3 separate regions of the Homo sapiens genome follow, and regions 1 and 2 are each linked to region 3. The links are contacts of gene promoters, found by promoter capture Hi-C in human tissues and cell types (Jung and others, 2019). All regions are on one chromosome and are shown on one strand. The core of a region is centred on a gene start or on the middle of the fragment in contact, and the rest is flanking DNA. Distances in the headings are between cores, read along the strand shown. Region 1 has its middle 17 kb from the start of GCOM1. Region 2 overlaps CGNL1 (cingulin like 1). Region 3 holds the start of CGNL1 (cingulin like 1).

What was found. Contacts are between HindIII fragments. The study calls those that stand out against the background at their distance.
Region 1: a fragment that was not itself captured here is called in contact with the fragment with the promoter of CGNL1 in region 3 in 2 of the 25 tissues and cell types used here (H1 embryonic stem cells and pancreas).
Region 2: a fragment that was not itself captured here is called in contact with the fragment with the promoter of CGNL1 in region 3 in 1 of the 25 tissues and cell types used here (mesendoderm cells).

Annotation. Positions count from the first base shown.
Region 1 is chr15:57,573,686-57,576,385 of GRCh38, reverse strand. No RefSeq gene overlaps it. Among named protein-coding and RNA genes, the nearest start is that of GCOM1, 17 kb to the left of the region's middle. The HindIII fragment of the contact is 4,052 bases long and covers 1-2,700 here.
Region 2 is chr15:57,505,334-57,508,033 of GRCh38, reverse strand. The region is part of intron 8 of CGNL1 (cingulin like 1); the gene reads right to left. Among named protein-coding and RNA genes, the nearest start is that of GCOM1, 85 kb to the left of the region's middle. The HindIII fragment of the contact is 4,195 bases long and covers 1-2,700 here.
Region 3 is chr15:57,375,058-57,377,757 of GRCh38, reverse strand. CGNL1 (cingulin like 1) reads right to left here and starts at 1,253. Exons shown (of 19, transcript NM_032866.5): 1 at 1,191-1,253. The HindIII fragment of the contact is 14,520 bases long and covers 1-2,700 here.

The sequences.
Region 1 (2,700 bases), core at 67-2,566, 200 kb before region 3:
ATAAGCAACAAGAGTTAACAGTTGCTGAGAGCATCTACAGACCAGACACTATAGAAAGCTTTGTCCACATTCTCTCATTTTATGTTACACATGTCTATGTACATATATACATATATATTCTATCACATCCTTCCAATAAGGTAGATGCTCTCATAAAGTCAATGTTGCCTCCCTGAGCGTGGGAGCTGGAGCCAGCGGCTTGAGTGGAGGGTGATATGTTAATGCACCAGGAGGGGCCCAGGCACCTGTAGTCTCAGGAAGGGTAAAGAACTGGTTCTGAGAGTGGAGCAATGGCTTGCAGAGCTGCACATAACCTGAGGAATTAGTGGTTGCCGCTCTGACTGTGAGTTCTCAGAGATGGGATAGTTTGAAGCATGGTGCCTTCCAAGCTGAGGAGGAAGTGGGGCTGAACAAAGGGCGAGGGGTTTGGTCACAGGGCTGTGACAGCCATGACAGGTTGCTCATCATCCCCAGTGGCGACATGATGGAAGTCTTCCAAATCTCAAAATTCTATGAATTTCAAGGGGATGGACATGTCGAGGACACATCCCTGGAGGAAAGTGAAGGGGAACTCCATCACCTACCAACCAAATGTGGAGACGGAACATGCAAGAACCAGGACCCTGACGAATACAATTGCTTCTGTCAGTGGTTCCCAAACTCTCCATTGCCAAGGACATCTTTCAGTCACACTCGCTATGAATAGCACATTTGGAAAGTTTTTGTCTATCCAATTACATTTTAATGAGTAATTAATTTGTTTTCAACATTTCTATTAATCAAGGAGATTAACAATTGCCAATTAGAGCTTCTAACGAGCTGAGACCACCAACCTTGCCTGGCTGGATTGCTGTTGGCCCCAAGCCAAGAAGCAATGATCCCATCAGCCAAGGCAGCAGTGCTTGGGAAGCTGTACATTTTCTTTCCGTCAAGCTTTTCAGAGTAGCGGAATGGCCTGCAGGTCCCCATGAGAACATCACCAGGCCCAAAGGGTGCATAGAGCCTTGTGTCAGGAATCATTGTCCTCATCTTGTCCCCCATGGCCTGGGCCGTCTTGCCAGCAGGCAGAGCAGAGGGAGGGGCAGCTATAGGTTGGGCCAGGATTTGCATCCCTGAAGGACAATGTGGTAATTAACATTAAACAGAGGCTAAGATATTGAGATTTCATACGCATCTTTCCCCAAATTTCTAAAGTTGTGCCAAGACTGTGTGATTTTGTTCTTTTCAATAAAGGCAATCTGTTAGGTTTAGAGTCTAGAGGGGAAAACCAAAAGAACGTGAGCCATTTTTGTAATTTTAATCTTTCTAATAGCCATATTTATTGACAATAAAAGGAAACAGGTAAACTTGATTTTACTCATATATTTTATTTAACCCAATATATTGAAATATTATCATTTAACATTAATATTATGTTACTAGTAAAATAGTAATGAGATATTTTACATTTTCTTGTACTAAATCTTCAAAATTCATCGTGTATTTTACACTCAGGTCATTTCAATGTGTACTGGCTACAATGTGAGCACTCAATAGCTGCAGGGTGGTAGTGGTTACAAAGCTAATAAGAAGAGGAACTGGAATTGGGACCCCCAAGGGGGAACTGGGACCCTGTTCCGACCTCCAAGTCAGTTCTGTCCCTGCTGCTATGCAAGAACTATTTTTGTTCCAACACAAGTAAATGACTTCTCTGAAGATATCCTTAAAGCTTACCCAGGCCAGCCCCCCACCCAAGGTGGAGGGGCCTATTGATGTGGCCTGGAGTTCACGGGAACATCATAGCACAAGATAAACTCGCTCAAAGAAGACATCAGGGCCAAGATGACAGACTTCAGGGCTACTCGCTCTGTTGCCCAGGATGGAGTTCAGTGGCTCAATCACGACTCACTGCAGCCTCAACCTCCCTGGGCTCAGGGGATTCTCTTGCCTCAGCCTCCCAAGTAGCTGGGACTACAGGCATATAGCATCACACCTAGCTAACTTTTGTATTTTTTTGCAGAGAAGGGGTTTCGCAAACTCCAACTCAATTAGATGAATTCTGGCTCCATAAGAAGCATGTGTTTCCCACTGGGGCCTCCCCTCCGACCTTCCAGAACTTGGCACTCAAACTAGGTATATCTTATCCCTTCCCCAAGTCCCTGTCTAGCTGCTCTATCCACGTACAAACTCAGAGGCTATTTTCTACCATGCAGACTGGGATTCAGAGGAAGAACCTGACACAGGCAGGGGAAGCAGAGGAAGCAATGGGGAGAAAGAACTTGCAGGGTTCCTGCAATGTCCCCATCCCTGATTCAAATTCCCTGTTCGTGGGCTCTGTGAGACATCCCTCCAACCATAGAACAAGTTCTTTCTGCCACTTGAGGTCATCTCAGTGAGTTTTGGATGATTGCAGCCAATTGACCCTAACAGCTGGGCCTCACTCAGAGGCCCAGGAGTGGGCTCCAGTTGAGCAGAAGCCTGCGGCCTTATTTCTGCTTCCTCTTCTAGATGGCAGTAGGGCCACCCCAGTTTGTCCCCACATCCCATCAGCATTTCTGAGGATTTTGTTCAGTCGTATTACAAGTTTACTGGGGTCCTGCCATGGAGGACCTAAGGCCTCTGTGGGCCTCTGTCCTGTCTACTCCACATTCAGAGCCCTGGCTCTCTTCCTGTGAGTCCCAAGCTGCCCATCAAGTCTTCTCTGATCCCCAGTTGGAACAC
Region 2 (2,700 bases), core at 188-2,687, 130 kb before region 3:
ATTTCTTTTTGTTAAAAGATGTGAATTCTAGACCAGATCCCGCTAACAATTCATGTATGATGACGACAGACAAATCATTTAACTTCTATCTGCCTTCACTTTCTCCCCTCTGCAACACAAAAGGGTCAGTCTATCTTGTTTCAATGTCCTGGCCAGCTCTAACAGTCTGGGATTCTAGAATGAACTTGAAGAAGTCAGGCAGCATTAGGTAGTCCTGGAATTCAGTGAGCTAAGATGACTAGAGGTTCTACTCCTACTGCCTCATGTTTACATTTTATTTTCAAATGCTGCCATTTAAACCAGATCATCTGTAACAATGTCCCTGCCACAGCATCCAGAGGTGAGGGCCATTCTCTCCTTATGGTCATTAACCTGCCGTACTTGTAGAGTTTACATATACCTTGCTTAATGAAGATTTTATTTACATCCTGTATTTCTGTTGCCCTGGTGGCAATTTTCTTGCTTATAGAACCACCTAAAAGATACTCCCTTTTAATCATATTCAATTACCCAGTTTTTCCTATGGCAACTCAGTGATTACATAGGTTAAAAATGTCTCTGGTTTTCTTCATAATGTCCTTAGGAAATAAGTCAACATGCTTCCCTTTAAAAAAACTAGTTAAGATTCACTCTCAGAGTGGCCTGTAATTAAAATATAGGTCCAAGACAAAAGTTACGACAATAAAATCCTCATATTTGCTCACAGAATGCATTTGACACACAATAAACCTACAGAGATACTCAACAAGGAAATAAAAATCCTTCTGACCACAACACACTGCAACTAAATAGATGTAGAGCAGTTAAGTGATTTGATTTTTCCGAAACACAACATGCTCCATAGTTCAGGTCTTGACATATGGTATGATTCTGTTTATACAAAATGTCCAGAATAGGCAAATCCATACAGACAGAAAGTAGACTAGTGGTTGACAAAGGATGAGGGAAAGGGGGAATTCAGATGAAAGGGGCTTCATTTAGGGTGATGAAAATGTTCTAGAATTAGATAGCGATGGTGGCTACCCAAATTGTGAATATATAAAAAACCACTGAACTGCACACTGTAAAATGCTTAAAATGAATTTTGTGTTATATGAATGTTATCTTAATAAAAACAAAAGAAAACAAAAAGAGTGCAGGCCTTGGAGTCAGCAGACCTGAATTGGTCCTGCTTGTTCTTCTCGAAACTTCAGTTTTCTCATTATTCTAAAAATGAATTGAGACATTATGCAAAGCACCTAGCAATGTTTCAGACACATAGTAAGACCTCAGTCAATGACCACAATACATTAAGGTTGGGTAGACAACAGTCACACACCCAGGACTTGAACCCGGTTCTCTGACTCCTTGCTTGTGACCTCTGCTAGTTGCTACCAGTTTCTTCCAAGTGGGGGCAGCAGCTTGAGGGAAAATTCCCCAGAGCCAGCCAGGGAAGGGAAAAGGAGGCCCCGAACCTGCCAGCTGGGGGCTTCAGCTACATCCACACACTCACCAAGACTGCATTTCAGGGGCTTCTATGAAACACAGCCTTAGGCCTTCCATTGTGCCTTTGCTTTGTTTTTTTAACACCATTCCTTAGAAAAATTCTTACAAAATGTTCCCCAGTTTCCAGGAGATAAAAGGAGCCTCACATCATATTTATAAGACACCACTTCCCTCACCATGAGAGCCACAGTCTAAGCTAACCTTGTGACCAGCATGTAAAAGTTCTGTTTATAGAACCCAACATGCCCCTGCAGTGCCGTTCGCCTTCAAGGAGCTGCTGGCTGGCGGAAGGGACTCCACCCAGACAATGCCCTGCTTCCAGCGCTCTGCGTCACTAGGAAAATATTGGGGGGTGGGAACCGGGTAAATGCAAGCGTTAGACTCCCAGTTAGAGTCGCTGTCACAGACAGACCACATGGCTTTACAAATGATTACAAATCAGCTTGCTGTCAGCACACACATGTCCAACAGGTTCAACAGGATTTTTGAAGAAAGAAGATAAACAAGCAGCCAAAGGCTCAATCTGGAAGCTCACAGGCCTACTCCAGTCCACAGTTCTGCCCTGCACCCCTGCCCGGAAGTCTTGTTATTTGTGAAAACGGATCCTTCAACTTTCCCATTTTGCTACCATATATCCATAAATGCTGAAAGGGTCTCTCCTGAATTATAAAAATCATGCCATTTTCAGAACTTAAATACAAATGCTGAGGCCAAGAACTTTCAATCCAATGGATGCTTCTCATTAGTGCTTCCTTGCAGCCCCAAACAAGACCAAATTTCCGTATAGAAAGCTGTCAACTTTTCCGTTTGCCCCACACTTCCATGGCCACAGGAGCGATGCTAAGCAGGGACTGGAGAAAGAAAAGGACATGGTCTCGGTAGGCAAGAGCCTGGGCCAAGACTGCTACAAGCGTTTAGGCTGACTCTGGTACCCACAGGGTTAAGACACCTGACAAGAGTGACCTTTATTATTTCCTCCTTTAAAGTAGTAGGCTGTTCCCTGAGACAGAGCTGAGCAGACCAGGCTCCTACAAAGCCCAGAGTGCCCTGGTTCCTCCTTGCAAGGCCAGGCTACCTGGGTCAATAGCCAGCTCTAACTGACTGGCAAGGGGAATGGGGCCAGAATAGAAACGTCCTGATCCTGGTATAGTCACCTGACCACTGTGAGGTTTTGTGCAAGTAACAACTTCTCTAAATCACAGCTCAGCTTTCTTA
Region 3 (2,700 bases), core at 4-2,503:
GACCCTGACAAGGACTGCTCGGTTCTAATGCCTACACTCCCACCTCCTTGGCAGAAAGTGCCCTGGCAGTATTGACTGTAAACAGAGAGGTAGAAACAAAGGGATCTTCAGTAAAGGCACCATCTACTGTCTAAAGTTGGAAAGCACCAATCAACAGGTTCTTCAGGTGGAGAGGTGGATTAGGGAAGAGCTATGAGGACCTGAGATGAGTTCTAGATCAGGACTGATCTTGAGCCGTCCGAAGAGTGGCTGGTGGGAGCAACTCTCAAAGCAGAGGTTTTCAAACTTGCCTGCACATTAGAATCACCTGCGGCGTCTTAAAAATTCCATTGTCCAGGCTGCAACCCAGGCAAGCCGAATCCAGATCTCTGGGAGTGGGACACAGGCACCAGTATTTTTTAAAACTCTCCAGATGTGGGGCCAAGTTTGAGAACCAATGCCCGCAAAAGCATTCCCAGCGAGCTTTGAGCAACGTTTTGAGCGGCATAAGCAGAGTCGGGAGGGCAGCGGCCTTAGGGTGAAGAACACACAAAGCAAATATACAAAGTTTCAAAAATCCTGTGTAACTAACTCCAACATGACAGCCAAGTACCTGTCTAGAGGCCAAACAGTGATGCAACTTGGAAAAGTCCCGGGGAGAGCTAGAATGTGTGCTCCGAGTGAGGCGGGGGCTCTCTCGGGGATGACCTCCCTGGGCGGCGCAGTGGTCTGGAGGATCGGGGAGAGAAAGGTCACACGCCCCTTTCTTTCCAGGGGATGGTCCGGCCGAGCACGCCGAGGACTTGTGTACGACAGGATAGGTCAGAAACTGCTTCGTGTGAGTCTCTCCCAGCTGTCACTAGAGCCGGAGGGTCCAGGCAGGGGTGCGAAGGCAGAAAGTCCCTCTTCACTAAAGGGAGGTTCTGCAGGGCCTCCTCCCTCCCACCCCGCCCCGAAGCGGGTTCCCCAGGGATCGCCCGCATCTGTTCTGCGCCTGCCCTCGGCGGGGCGCGGCGCGGGAGTCCGGGTCGCATCTTCGAGCCCCAGGACACGCGCGGCGCGGGTCACCGAGAGTGGACGCGCGGACTGAGCACAGTGCACCTGGCTGAGCCCGAACCCCTGGGGGTCCCGCCGCCCTGGGCGGCCCCTAGCACCCCGAAACCCGGCTGCCGGCGCACACCCCGCCCCGCTCCAGCCCGGAGCTCACTCACCGCCGCCGCCGCCTCCTCCCGCGTCCAGCTCCCGCCGCAGCCAGCAGAGCCCGGCCGGAGTGCAAGGGCCGCGGCGCCGCCGGGAGGCCGAGCGAGCCCGCGCCCCGCCCCGCAGTCGCCGCCCGCCCTCCTGGGAGGAGGGGCAGGGGCTGGCCGGGGGCCTGGACCCGCCGGGGCTGCCGGCGGGCCCAACCCTCCCTTCAATCCGCCCGCGGCCCGTCGGGACGAACCTACCCAGGAACCCCCGCACCACCCGCCCTCGGCTCCGCTGGGCCCGGGGCTGCGCTTAGACCTCACCCCTTCCCGGAGCCGTTCGTCCTTCCACCTCCCCTCCGCCGTCACCGGGCATTTTTCTTCTCCCAGCCTCGGCCTCTCCAAATTCCTGGCCTGCAGGAAGCCCTCCCTATTTCGCGCTCTCGACTGCGCCGAGCTCAGTTTACCCCTTTCCCTTCCTTTCCCTGCTTAGCCTTTTTCCCCCTCACTGTCAGAAACTTAAGGGATAGCGCTCTTCTGCCACCGCAAACCCACACCTATTTATTGAGCACCTACTGTGTCTAGACACTGGTGGGGAGGTTATCCCACTTGCGCGGTAACAAGAAATGTCTGTCTCTGTTGGAGAAACAGTAAAGTGAGGCGCCTCGTAAGGTCACACAGCTGGCGGTAGTAGGGCTGGGATTCGAATACAGTTTTTAGGTCCTTGTTTAGACCCACCCCACGATAAACTGCGGCACGCCTCTCGCTAGCTGTGAGAACTTGGGCAAAATGTTATCAGTTCTAAACCCCAGTTCACTCATCCGTAAAATGAAAAGCTGGATACTTCACCAGCTATGAGGATTCCCTGAGAAAACAACAACCTGTACTTTTTTTTTTTTTTTTTTTTTTTGGAGATGGAGTCTTGCTGTTTTGCCCAGGCTGGAGTGCAGTAGCGCGATCTCGGCTCATTGCCTCTGCCTCCCGGGTTCAAGCGATTCTCGTGCCTCAGCCTCCCGAGTAGCTGGGACTACAGGTGGCCACCACTACGCGCGGCTAATTTTTGTGTTTTTAGTAGAGACGGGGTTTCACCACGTTGGTCAGGCTGGTCTCGAACTCCTGACCTTAAGTAATCTACCCGCCTCGGCCTCCCAAAGTGCTGGGATTACAGATGTGAGCCACTGCGCCCTGCCCAACCTGTACTTAATACATGTTTGCTGACATATTGAATGAAATAGACCCTTGAAAACTTAACAATTCAAAACAATATAAAAGGACTTGAAAAAGTAATAGGTTGGTGCAAAAGTAATTGCAGTTTTGCTATTACTTTCAATGGGAAAAGCCACAGTTACTTTTGCTCCGACCTAATAATAGTGATTCATTGCCAGGAAAGAAAGAAAAAAAAAAAAAGATGCTACTTATCCCAAGTGGGCAGCATGGTCAAGGGAGTCTTTTTGGAGGAAGCGGTATTGCACTATTCCAGAGTTAGCAGGTCTAGGTTGGGGAAGACAGCCAAGGTGATGGGGTGTGTGAACAGTGC